Linked DNA regions of Homo sapiens: all the other regions are linked to region 1. The links are contacts of gene promoters, found by promoter capture Hi-C in blood cells and fetal thymus (Javierre and others, 2016). All regions are on one chromosome and are shown on one strand. Each heading gives the region's core, a stretch centred on a gene start or on the middle of the fragment in contact. The rest is flanking DNA. Distances are from core to core; before and after follow the strand shown. Region 1 holds the start of OR10H1 (olfactory receptor family 10 subfamily H member 1). Region 2 overlaps SLC1A6 (solute carrier family 1 member 6). Region 3 has its middle 16 kb from the start of OR7A17.

What was found. Contacts are between HindIII fragments. The CHiCAGO score rates a contact against its expected background, and 5 or more counts as called.
Region 2: a fragment that was not itself captured here is called in contact with the fragment with the promoter of OR10H1 in region 1 in 1 of 17 cell types (M1 macrophages); the score reaches 5.8 in M1 macrophages.
Region 3: a contact is called between a fragment that was not itself captured here and the fragment with the promoter of OR10H1 in region 1, in 1 of 17 cell types (M1 macrophages). The highest score is 5.0, in M1 macrophages.

The regions. Positions count from the first base shown.
Region 1 is chr19:15,813,410-15,817,616 of GRCh38, forward strand. OR10H1 (olfactory receptor family 10 subfamily H member 1) reads right to left here and starts at 2,255. Exons shown (of 4, transcript NM_013940.4): 1 at 2,146-2,255. The HindIII fragment of the contact is 16,264 bases long and covers 1-4,207 here.
Region 2 is chr19:14,955,949-14,960,220 of GRCh38, forward strand. It overlaps SLC1A6 (solute carrier family 1 member 6), which reads right to left. Exons shown (of 10, transcript NM_005071.3): 7 at 528-761. Among named protein-coding and RNA genes, the nearest start is that of OR7C2, 17 kb to the left of the region's middle. The HindIII fragment of the contact is 2,634 bases long and covers 1,145-3,778 here.
Region 3 is chr19:14,900,175-14,904,819 of GRCh38, forward strand. It overlaps the pseudogene OR7A3P. Among named protein-coding and RNA genes, the nearest start is that of OR7A17, 16 kb to the left of the region's middle. The HindIII fragment of the contact is 776 bases long and covers 1,184-1,959 here.

The DNA.
Region 1 (4,207 bases), core at 1,005-3,504:
AAAACAGAGAGAGAGAAAGGTAGGAAGAGAAAGAGAGAGATGGGGATAGAGAGAGAGGCAGGGGAAGAGAGAGAGAGAGAGAGAGAGAGAGGAGGCGAGGGAGAAACAGAGAGAGAGAGGTGGGGAGAGAAAGAAAGAGAGGTGGGGAGAGAGAAAGAGAGAGACAGAGAGGTGGAGACACAGAGAGATGTGGGGAAAGAGCACACACAGAGAGAGAGAGAGATGGAGGGAGAGAGAGAAGTGGGGAGATAGAGAGTGGGAGGTGGGGGGAGAGAGAGAGAGAAGGACAGGGAGAAAGACACAGAGAGAGGTGGGGAGAGAGAAGTGGGGAGAGAGACACAGAGAGTGTGGGAGGTGGGGAGAGAGAGGGTTGGGGAAAGAGAGAGAGAGACAGAGAGAAGGGTGGGGAGAGAGAGAGAAGTGGAGAGAGAGGGAGGTGGGAAGAGAAACAGAGAGAGGAAAGAGAGGTAGGGAGAAAGAGAGGACAGAGGGGAAAGAGAAGAAAAAGGTGAGAAGAAAGAGAGAGAGCAAGCAAGCCCACTGTCTAGCACTGACAGGAACACCCGGTGGGGCCAGTTCTCCACTCAGAGACTCTAGGGCTAAGCGTGGCTGTGGACAAGTCCTGCCACAGACATCCCTAGAGCAGGGTTTCCTGCCTTCAGCATTAGGGACGCTAGGGGCGAATCATTCTCTCTCAGAGGGGTGTCCTGTGCACTGCAGGAGACTGAGCAGCATTCTTGGTCTCCACCCACCAGATAGATACCAGCAGCACTCCCCAGTCACGACAATCAGAAATGTCCTTATACGTTGTCACGTGTCTCCTGGGTGACAGCATCACTCCATGGGCCAGGCCTGTCTTGTCTCTGAGACCCCATCTGGCCTTAACTCTCACCCATCCTGGCTCTCTCTTCTTAGTGAAGCTGTCTGGCCTCCCCTCTCTTCCACTTAAGCCACCACTTCCCTCTCTTTTCTCTCCATCTTCTCATCCCCAGCTCCTAACCATTCCCTCACCACCTGCTCCCATTGACGCCTCCCTTGTGTGTGTGTGTGTGTGTGTGTGTGTGTGTGTGTGAGAGAGAGAGAGAGAGAGAGAGAGAGAGAGAGAGAGAGAGAGAGAGAGAGAGACAGGGTATCCCTCTGTCACCCAGGCTGGAGTGCAGAGGCACAATCACAGCTCACTGCAGCCTTAACTTCCTGGGCTCAAGCAATCCTCCCACCTCAATCTCTGGAGTAGCTACAGGTGCCTGCCATTCCTGGCCAATTTTTGTATTTTTTTGTACAGACAGGGTCTCACTATGCTGCCCAGGCTGGCCTCAAACTCTTGGACTCAAGTGATCCTCCCACCTTGGCCTCCCAAAGTGCTGGGATTGCAGGCATGAGCCACTGCACCCGGCCCACCCTGATTCTTTACACCCTGGGGTGGTGGCTGGAGCTTCTGAACCCTGAATCCTCTTTCTCTCTTTTCTCCGCCTCTTCCCAATCCTTTTTCCGTAGACTTCTTGCCTGGACAGACCGAGAAGAGAGGTTAAAATCAAACCATCACCTTGGGTCACATTGAGCATTGGCTGTCTTCTCTCTGCACCTGTTACCTCCCCCATCCAAGGGACCTACCTCATGAGGCAGCAGGAGCTCTAAAGAAGGCAAGTCCTGGCTGGGCACGATGGCTCATGCCTGTAATCCCAGTACTTTGGGAAGCCGAGGCGGGTGGATCACGAGATCAGGAGTTCAAGACCAGCCTGTCCAGCATGGTGAAACCCCTGTCTCTACTAAAAATACAAAAAATTAGCCAGGCATGGTGGCACGCACCTGTAGTCCCAGCTACTCAGGAGGCTGAGGGAGAAGAATCGCTTGAACCTGGCAGGCGGAGGTTGCAGTGAGCCGAGATTGCGCCACTGCACTCCAGCCTGGGCTACAGAGCGAGATTCCGTCTCAAAAAAAAAAAAAAAAAAATAGAAGAAGGTAAGTCCTGCTAAGCAAACAGCACACTGACTAAGACGTGGTGAGTGGCCTCTGCCTGTCACCCACTGCCCTGTAGACTCACATTGCTAAAGGAGTAATATAAACAGGTGGTTTCTTGGAGTCCCTGGCAGGTGCTGGTTCCCCAGGTCTCTCCTGGTCAGGTGGCTGAGAGGGGAGGTGACTCACCTGGGACTCCAGGCATCTGCTTCTGCTTCATCCCAGTAGGAGGCTCTAGTTTGGAGTTTCTCCACAGGTGGGAGCTGACCAGGTGTGGGCTGCACCAAGCAGCCACACCAGCTGAGCCGGGGGCTTGACTGAGCCCAAATGCGATTATTTATCCCTCCCTGACTCCCTGCCCACCGGCTTCCCTCGCTGTGGTCCTACTGTCTCTGTCTCCGCTACAGGGATGCTGGGACCCCAGGGACCCTGCCAGAGAGGAGGCAACCTCAGGGAATCTGTATCCTCACTTTCCCATTCCCCCCGCCTGCCAGGGGTGAGTCAATTCCCTGAGCTTGTCAAGAGCTTGAGCAGAGTCTAGTGCTCTACAGATTTGGGGTTTGGGCCCATGACTGTTGAAATTGACAGGAGGGCAGCCCTGCCATTGCCCCCAGGGACTGCAGAGGCTGCCTTGATATGCCCCGTCACCTTCATTCTTCTCCAACTGGGTCATTTGCCCAACTAAATGTCCTTTAAAATAATTTTTTAAAACCAACACACACACACGTATTTGTTTTTATTTTTATTTTTTGAGACAGGGTCTAGCTCTGTTGCCCAGGCTGGAGTGCAGTGGTGTGATTATGGCTCACTGCAGCCTCAACCTCCCAGGCTCAAATGATTCTCCTGCCTCAGCCTCCTGAGCAGCTGGGAGTAAAGGTGCTTGCCACCACACCTGGGCTAAGTTTTAATTTTTCTGTAGAGATGGGGTCTCGCTTTGTTGCCCAGGCTGGTCTTGAGCTCCTTGGCTCAAGGGATCCTCCCACCTTGACCTCTCAAAGTGCTGGGATTACAGCTGTGAGCCACCATGCCTGGCCTGTTTCTTCTTATTATGTAATTGAAATGCTACATACAAAGCAGCAAACCATGCAATGGCCAGCCAGGCAATCGTGACGGTGAATTTAATGGGTATCCCTTCAGATCTTCATGAGCATGTAGGATGTGAAAACAATGCAAACCCATAAAATCAGAGTTCTGTTGTGCATTATTGTTGCTTTCGCTTCGTTCTGCTTTTGAGGTGAAATTCACATAAAATAATCAACCACTTTAAAGTATACAATTCCCTGGGATTGAATGCATTCACAATGTTGTGTGGCCGCCGCCTCTGTCTAGTTCCAAAATGTTTTCATCACCTAATACCCATTAGCAGCCACTCCCCTACCCCACCCAGTCCTTCAAAACCACCAATTTGTTTTCTGGCTCTGGCTCTATGGACTTACCTATTCTAGACATTTCATATAAATGGGACTATATACTACTATATATAACGATGCATTATGATTGCCCCTGTGAGTAGCCACGGCACTCCAGCCATTTTGTCAACACAAAAATGTCGACATTGCCAAGACTGAGAAACTTTGGTCTGCATAAACTCACACAGAGTTCACTCTAAGACGCTGAGTGAAAAACCAAGTTACGGAAAGATATCTACGGGAGAATCAGATCTGCATTTTAAAAACACACAAAATGGTTTGACAGTTTATCAAAAAGTTAACATAGAAATTATCAAAGGACTCAGCAATTTCACTCCTAGGTATACACCCAAAAGAATGGAAAAGGATTCAAACAAATCCTTGGACATCAAATGTGCATAGCAGCACTGTTCACAGTAGCCAAACGGTATTTTTTAATTTTTCTGTAGAGAGTAGGATTTCACTTTGTTTCTCAGGCTGCTCTTGGAACTCCTGGGCTTAAGCGATTCTCCTGCCTTGACCTCCCAAAGTGCTTGGATTGCAGGTGTGAGCCACTGGACATGGCCTGATCCAAACGTCTATCAATGGCAGATCCAAATGTCTATTAATAAATAAATGGATAAACAAAGTGTGGTATAATCATATAATGGCTATTATTCAGCCACAGAAAGGAATAACATCCCAGTCCAGGCCACAGTAGAGATGAACGTTGAAAACATGTGCTATGTGAAAGGAGCTAGGCTTTTAATTTTATGGATAATTCCATACAAATGATATCTCTTTGATACACTGATTTCTTTTCTTTGGAGTATATACTTAAGTAGTGGCATTTCTGGATCATA
Region 2 (4,272 bases), core at 1,212-3,711, 860 kb before region 1:
AAAAATTCTTCCATCTTTTTGGCTGTTGTGCTACTTTTCAAATTTGTTTTTGAATTGGGATGATGCTCTTAATTAATCCCCTAAAACTACAAAAGAAGAAGAGGAGGAGGAAGAGGAGGAAGAAGAAAAAGGAGGAAGAGGATGAAGGGGAAGAAGAAGGAGGAGGAGAAGGAAGAAGCAGCAGCCAAGAGATCTCCCAGACACCATCTCACAAGTGGAGATGACACCCTCTGAGCTAGGAAATGACTGAGCTCATGGGGCATCCTGGAACCTTCCCTCTTAACCTCAAAACTGGTACCTGGTTCTCCTCCACAGAAAGTTAAAAAACAGGAAAGGAGAAAAGGAGACCAGGAGAGCCAGCCCAGGACAATGACTGGACCCCAGGTGTTGACATTATGAGCCCTGGACATTGTTGGACGACTCAGAAGAGGTGTTTAAGGAATGGAGAGGGCAGGTGCCTTAGGAGAGGACATGAAGGACAAGAAGTGCAACCAGGAATGGTGCTGGGGTGGGGAGCAAGGCCATACCTGGAAGACGTGCCCATAGCGGTGATGAGGGCTTGTAGCATGCCCCCAATGAAGGGGAAGGGGTTCCGGTGAGTGACGAGGAAGTAGATGAGGGGAAGGACAATGCCGGCATGGAGGAACAGGCCCACGATGACGGTCAGGGTGTACATGCCCAGCTGACCCCCCAGGACGGCCATGTCTTCCATCTCCAGAATCTTCCCAGCAATCAGGAACAGGATGCCCACAGGTGCATACCTGTGTGAGGGAGCCACATACCTGTCAGGGCTCCCTCCTGACCTCCCTTGCAGGTCTGAAGGTGGCATCCCCAAGGCTTTGCCCATATAGGGCCCTGGAGCCACACAATACCCATGATACGGCACCCTACTCCATCCCAGTCTTCCCCGTACACTAATGAATGCCACCGGGCCCCATGAATGAAGCCCACCTCCTCCTCCTCCTGCTCTTCCACATCTCCCCACCATGGTAGAAAAGTTCCTACAACTCCAGGATATACAAGCTTTCAGGTCTCTCCTGTACCTACTCCCCATTCAAGCTCTCTCAATCCTGCCCCAAATAATCACTACCTTCAGTTTCCTTCCTTAGACATTGCCAAGACATTCCCTGTCTCTGGCCTTCTAAGCTTCCCTTATCTTCTGCCCCCAACTGTTTGTTCCACATTTGAAATGTGTATGCCCCTATTCTCTTCCCTATCAGTGCCTGTTATCACTCATTCACCAGCCTAAGCATTTCCCTCTCAAACCACTTGTCCTATCAAAATCACCGATGTATTCATTCATTCCACAGATATTGACTGAGTACCTACTGAGTACCAGGCACATGGCTCTCGTCCTCAAAGCACTTACATTCTGTTATGGACTAAATGTTTATGTCCCCTCCCCACTCCAACCAAATTCATATCTTGAGATCCTAACCCCCAATGGGATAGTATTGGGAGGTGATTAGGTCATGAGGGTAGAGCCATCATGAATGGAATTAGTGCCCATATAAAAGACACACCAGAGAGCTCCCTCCACCCTTCTGTCATTCGAAGACACAGCAAGAAGACGCCTTCCATGAACCAGAAGACAGCCCTCACCAGACATGGAATCTGTGGGTGCCTTGAACTTAGACTTCCCACCCTCCAGAGCTGTGCGAAATACATTTTTGTTCTTTAAGCCACAATGTCTATGGTATTTTTGTTACAGCAGCTGACATGAACTAAGACACATTCTAATGGGGAAAGCAGGAGGTACACATAGAAATGCACTAATTGCAAACTTCAAGTGGTGATAACAGCAAAGGAGAGTCACTGGATGGGACTGCTTCTGAGCAGATGGTCAGAGAGGGCTTTTCTGAAGAGGTGACATTTAAGCTGAGACTTGCATGATGAGAAGGTACCCTGTGTATCTGGAAGAAATCATTGCAGGCACAATGCAGACTCTGAGATGGGCATGCACTAGGAGTGCTGGAGGACCAGAGAGAAGACCAATGTGGCTGGAGTATTGAGTAAAAAGGAGAATAGAGAAGATGAAAGAAGCAAGTTCATCAGGGGCTCACCTGTTTCCCCCCATAATCCAGCCCACGGGTCAATCGAGTGAGTTTCTGCCATTGGCACCATCATCTCATTTCGAGGCTTCAATGGCTACTCCTCTTTCTTTAGAAATTGAAGTTTATGGCTGGGCATGGTGGCTCATGCCTGTAATCCCAGCACTTTGGGAGGCCGAGGAGGGCAGATCACTTGAGGTCAGGAGTTCGAGACCAGCCTGGCCAACATGGTGAAATCCCATCTCTATTAAAAATAAAAAAATTAGTCAGGTGTGGTAGTGCACACCTGTAGTCCCAGCTACTCGGGAGGCTGAGGCAGAAGAATCACTTGAACCCAGGAGGCAGAGGTTGCAGTGAGCTGAGATCACATCACTGCACTCCAGCTTGGGCGACAGAGCCAGACTGCATCTCAAAAAAAAAAAAAAATTTGAAATCTACTTTGGCTCACATTCATCGTGGATGTGTTGGAGGAGGTGGGGACCTCTTGGGAAGGTGGTACAATAGCTTGAGTCAAAAATGAGGATGCACGGGGCTTCTCCAGTCACATCTGTGTTCTCCAAACTGGGCTCAGAGTTAGCCCTGGGGAGTAGTTGCTGAGTCTTCTCCAAGTCAACATGACTAGATCCACCTCTATGCTTACTCTGAGTAATCCCTCTCTCAACTTCCTCACCTCCATCCTTCCACCTCATCCCCTGCAAAATTCCTCAGCCCAAGATTAATTGTGCATGATTTCTTACCCCCTACACTCAGCCACCTGGCACATCTGGACATTTCACCCAATCATGCCAATGACACTGCTATAAATTCATTGTTCCCAATTCAGCTGAGCCTTCATTATTCCTTGTTAACTCTCTGCTTATCCTTAATAAGCTCCCCACTCCCATTCCTTTCAGATGCTTTTCCAGGCCCTCAACTTGGCCTCAAGTTCCTTATATGAAGAAAGTAAAAGTTCGTCTTCAAAGTTTCCCTTCTTGTTAAAGAATAAATCTTAAGTGTTAAAAATAGTTTCTTTTAAAGACTAACTTCCTTCAAGCCTCCTTACTTTATGCTAATAACTCTTTGTTAAGCCCTATCCTATGTAGGTGTTAGACACGCTCACAGGCACATAGTACATTCTACGTCCTTGTACTTTAACCAAGATATCTGTGCTGGATGTGCTCACAGGCATGTCCCAGCTTGCAGCCTATACCCCTTCCTTATTTGGGAATGTTATTACTTTTCTAAGTCCTTTTGTAAGCAACTTCCTCTTTTCCTCTGTTTTCCATTGCTTTTACCTATTTAGAAAAGTTTTAAATTATTAGCCAGTCGGGATTTAGTTTAGATTGTAAAGTCTGGCTCCAGCCAATGGAGACAGACACAGTAGCAGGGACAAACTGCATAAGGGATAAAAATTGCTTCTTCCCTCCTTTGTTCAGGTGTGCTCTTGCCATTGTTCCATCTGTGATGAACACCCTTTCTGCAGAAGTAAAAATTGCCTTGCTGAGATAATTAAATTTATGTTTGAGTGCTATTTCTTTATGGCACTGGGGAACAAGCATTCTGTTTCTAAATAAACATTTTACATATGACACTATACAACTTTCCAATTGTTTGGGATGATGTACAAAGTCTTCTCCCATTTGGGATCTGACAGCCTTGTTAATATCTTCCACCACCACTCCCAACTTACCCCATGCTCTCACCTTCCTGAATGCCCCACCATTCTCCAAACAACTTAGGTACCTTCAAGCTTTGCATGTTCTCTTCTCTCTGCCTGAAATACGTCTCCCCTCTCACTGTCCAGTTGAAGTCCTACTCACCTGTCAAGACGCAGTTAACAGGTGACCTTCTTCATGACTCCCTCTTCAGGAAGCATTCACTGCGTACCCCTCTACTCACTGCTTCCTTCTCCAAGTTCCCAACATTTTTTAAATGTTCCTTTACTACAGAACCTACCACCTTGTGTTATATTGATCTACAATGTGTCTGTCTCCCCTAAGATTTTGTGAGCTTGTTGAGGACAAGGTATGAGTGCACTGTATCTCTGTACTCCAGAGGTCAAGACAAAGTCTGCCTGGGAAAATGCCTGCTGAGTGAATAAAGATATTTCTGAAGTAATAAAGGAATCTAGAGAAGGAATGATGGAAGGAAGGAAGGAAGGAAGGGATTAACAACTGGATGAATAAGTAAGGAAATAAGCAAATGAAACAAGTTAGTAGCTGAGTGAACAAATACGTGAACA
Region 3 (4,645 bases), core at 322-2,821, 910 kb before region 1:
AAGCTGATGTTTCTTAGTGTATCAAATTATCCACCTAATCTTCTAGGAGCTCCTCCAACTCTTCATGGAAATCTTATCTTCCTGGCTTCTAGGTGATAGCATGTAATTCATACATATTTAATGTATACTGAAGTATAAAATGCTTGCATGTCTGTTTTTCTCCCAGTAGATAATTATTTTCCACTTATTTATTAACTCTTAGATAATTAGACACCTCTTTCTGTATTTTTGTGTTGCCTTTCTATGTTGCCTTTAGGAGGATCAGTCTTCTCCACCTTTGGCTCTGGATTTTGATGATGCCTCAACTGGGAGAAGTGTAACACCTACGATGATTGAGACATTCTTTGTCTGATAGGATGTGAGTGGTCATGAGATGTTCAATCTGTGAGAAGAAGCTGTAAGAGGCATTGTGAGATGACACCACTTCTGTTGCTCTTCCTCTTTCAAATTGTCCTTGCTCTATTATTTAAAAGTCCAATAATAACAAATGCTGGTGAGAGTCTGGAGAAAAGGAAATACTTCCACACTGCTTTTGGGAATGTAGATTAGTTCAGCCATTGTGGAAAGCAGTTTCACAGTTCTCAAAGACCTTAAAACAGGATTACCACTTCACTCAGAAATTCTATTATTGGATATATACCCAAAGGAATGTAAATCATTCTACTATAAAGACATATGCATACATATGTTCATCACAGCACTATTCACAATAGCAAAGACATGGAATCAACCTGAATGTCCATCAATAGTAGACCGAATAAAGAAGATGTGGTACTATACAACATAGAATACTACAGAGTCATCAAAAAGAATGAGACTGTGTCCTTTGCAACAACGTGGTTGGAGCTGGAGGCCATAATTCTTAGCAAACTAACGTAGGAACAGAAAACCAAATACCACATATTCTCATTTACAAGTGGGAGCTAAATAATGAGAACACATGGACACAAAGAGGGGAACAACAGATACTGGGGCCTCCTTGAGTGTTGAGGGTGGTAGGAGGGTTAGGATAAAAAAAACTATGTATCAGGTATGCTTATTAAGCGGGTGACAAAATACTCTGTACACCAAACCCTCACAACAAACAGTTGGCTTATATAGCAAACCTGCACATGTACCCCTGAACCTAAAATAAAAGTTAAAAAAAGATTGTCCTTACTGCCCAACATTCAAGAGCTAATTAAGCTTGGATAGTCCTATGGCTGAATATTTTTGTCTTGTCCAGGATATATATGTCCTAATCCCCAATGAGAAAACTTCCACAATGTAGACTCTGATGTGATTTTTTAAAAGCATGACTTTAAATCATTTATTATTGGGATGTTTTGTTACACAACATTAGATTACTGATACAATAATCAAAGCAACATAACTAAAGATATTCAGAATTATCTTTTTTTAGGTGTCAGATCCTTTTGTTTTTTAGTTTTTTATTGGATTCACTGTATACAGAATATTCTGTTGGCTCTTTTTTTTTGGTGCTTTTTCTGATATCAGAAAGCAGTGTTCATAATTATATGGATATTTATATTTACTTCACATAACTGTATCATAGGATGACTACTTTTAGATTTCCTCTAGGTAACCAGAAGAGTTTGGCAGGACATGTATATTTTTGCTGAAACAAATTGCAACCTGGAATCTCAAGTCTCTAATCTCACATGCAATACTGGGAAGAAATTCAAGCTCTTATGTGAGTCATCATTAGAGAGTTTGGAGTATAAAAGAGATAAAGCAAGTGATGATACAGTAAATACACATATCCTTCACTTACCTCCAGTTTAATGCTTGTGACATAATTTATTAAAGGGAGTGATAGTTTTAGAACAATGCAAGAAGTCATATTTGTAGCACTGGAAACTTTTAATCAGAAACAGAAAGATGATGCAATCAAATAATGTAGATCATGACACCAAATCCTTTACCTAAATGAACAAACCTCATTACCCATGGACAACAAGCTTCCACCCTTTAATGAGTTGTATTAGTCCGTTTTCACACTGCTGATAAAGACATACCCAAGACTGGGTAATTTATAAAGAAAAAGAAGTTTAATGGACTCACAGTTCCACGTGGCTGGGGAGGCCTCACAATCACAGCAGAAGGCCAAAGGCATGTCTTGCATGGCGGCGGGCAAGAGAGCATATGCAGGGGAACTCCCCTTTATAAAACCATCAGATCTCATGAGACTTATTCACTGCCATGTGAACAGCATGGGAAAGACCTGCCCCAATGATTCAATTACCTCCCACCGGGTCCCTCCCATGACACAAGGAAATTATGGGAGCTACAATCAAGGTGAGATTTGGGTGGAGACACAGACAAACCATATCACACACCATCAAAAACAAATCTTCCACGATAATCACTGCATGACTGAAAATTTTAGTCCATCATATTTAAGGTCGTCTCTGAATCTGAGGCCATATGAAGTCAATTGATTCATGCAAATGTGTCTTTCTGTGTAGACTACACTAGGAACATGTATGTTATAAGTAATATTCGCCTTCCTCCTCTTTACCAGGGAATATAGTAGGCAGTGTAGACACTGAGCTGGATAGCAGACAGGATCCTAATGAGGAGAATAAAATGCCATGATGATTATAAACACACCAGCATGGTCAAGTTTACATAATCAGGAAGAACAGTAAAGGTAGTAAGAAATGAAGGACTCAGAAGTAAAAAACTGTGATCTCAGATATTCATCTATAATATGATTATACCAATGACCTTACATTTGCCAAGTGCAATTGATTTTTTAGGACTGATACAACTCTCTAGTGTATTAGACAAATAGGAATCTCCAAAAGTGTTTTACCCTAGTTTGGAAATAACTATGGGAAATTAGGAAAATGACAAACAAAAAGTAAGTTGGATATCAGAGCAGAAAGCTTTCTAAAGAAATAGCATAAGTCTGACACAGCACTTGAGAACAAGGAAATTAAAACTCTAGAAACTGAATAGAAGCAGAACATTCTCTTTCCCTCCTTCCATGATCTGATTCGTGAATCACAATGTTTGAGTTCGGTTAGAGCTTTGAAATCACATGTACTTCTTGAAAGATGCTCATTTTATTTCTTCCTTCTGAAGAATTGTTTTAGAGCCCCCTTTATGTCTTTATTCCTCAGACTGTAGATGAAGGGGTTCAGCATGGGGGTGACCACAGTGTACATCAGAGGCTGTTGCACTTGAGAGTGAGTTGTGGGTTGCAGCAGCACTAAGGTACACCCCAAGGCTCATACAATAAAATAAGGAGACAACTGAGAGGTGCGATGCACAGGTGGAAAATGCCTTGTACTTCCCCTGAGCTGATGAGATTGCACGTATGGAGGAAACTGTCTTAAAGTAAGAGTACAGGATCCCAGTGAAACATCCCCTACCTAGAAGCACAGCTGACAAATACATCACCATGTCATTAAGAAAGGTGTCAGAACAGGCACTGCGGATTATCTGATTAAGTTCACAGAAAAAGTGGGGGATTTTCAAGTCTGTACAAAAGAGCAGTGGCAACACCATTAAGCTTTCTATCAAGGAATTCAGGGCACTCATGATCCAGGACGCCAGAACCAGCAGTCCACAGAGCCGAGGGTTCACGATGACCGTGTAGTGCAGGGGGTGACAGATGGCCACAAACTGGTCATAGGCCATCACGGTCAAGAGTAAGCTGTCCAACACTATAAAGAGTACAAAAAAGTACATCTGGGTGATGCAACCTGCATAGGTGATGACTTTACTCTGTGTCCGGATGTTTGACAGTGTCTTTGGGACTGTGGTGGAGGTAACACAGATGTCTACAAAGGACAGGTTAGAGAGGAAGAAGTACATGGGGGTGTGGAGGTGGGAACCAGAGCAGATGGCCAGGATGATGAGCAGGTTTCCAAACACAGTTGTCAGATACATGGAGAGGAAGAGTCCAAACATAACGGGCTGCAATTCTGGTTCCTCTGAAAGTCCCAGAAGAAGAAATCCTAAAATCCTCGTACCATTCTCTGGTTCCATGTGGTTGAGGTGACTACCAGTCAGAGAAAGAGAACATGACCAATTTTTACTCAAAAGGGCATCACTCACATTGTTGAAAGACAACCAGTTATATTTTGCAGCCAAGACATTAATTTCTATATTTTGTGTATGGAACTTTTCCCAGTTTCTGTGCTCCTCAGAGCTGTCTCTGATTGAAAATTCTTGTGCTATTCTCAACCTTTCCCTAAGAGGTTGTATATTCTTTAATGAGAAATTCTTCTACGCACTTGTGTAATATTGATTGTATGCTGACCATGTTCCAGGAACTGTCTAGGTAATGAGTGTAGGGTGCAGAGAAACTGATAACCTTACTATCCAATGATGGAGAAAGACAATGAGCTGATAAAGACATCATCATCTGTTGCGTTAGATGGTGCTTAGAAGAAAATGAAAGCACATTAAAGAGAATGGAGAGGGGTTGCTATTTTTTATGAGTGTACAGGCAAGACCAGCAGACAAGGTGACATTTGAACAGAGACCTCAAGGAAGAGGCGGTTGGGAGCCCAGAGGATATTTGGCGAAGTCTGTGCCTGACAGAGGGAATGACTAATGCAAAGGCCTGAGGAAGGTGCTTGTTTCGGAAAATCAAGGCTCAAATAGAAGCCAGCGTGTTGAGGGCAATGAG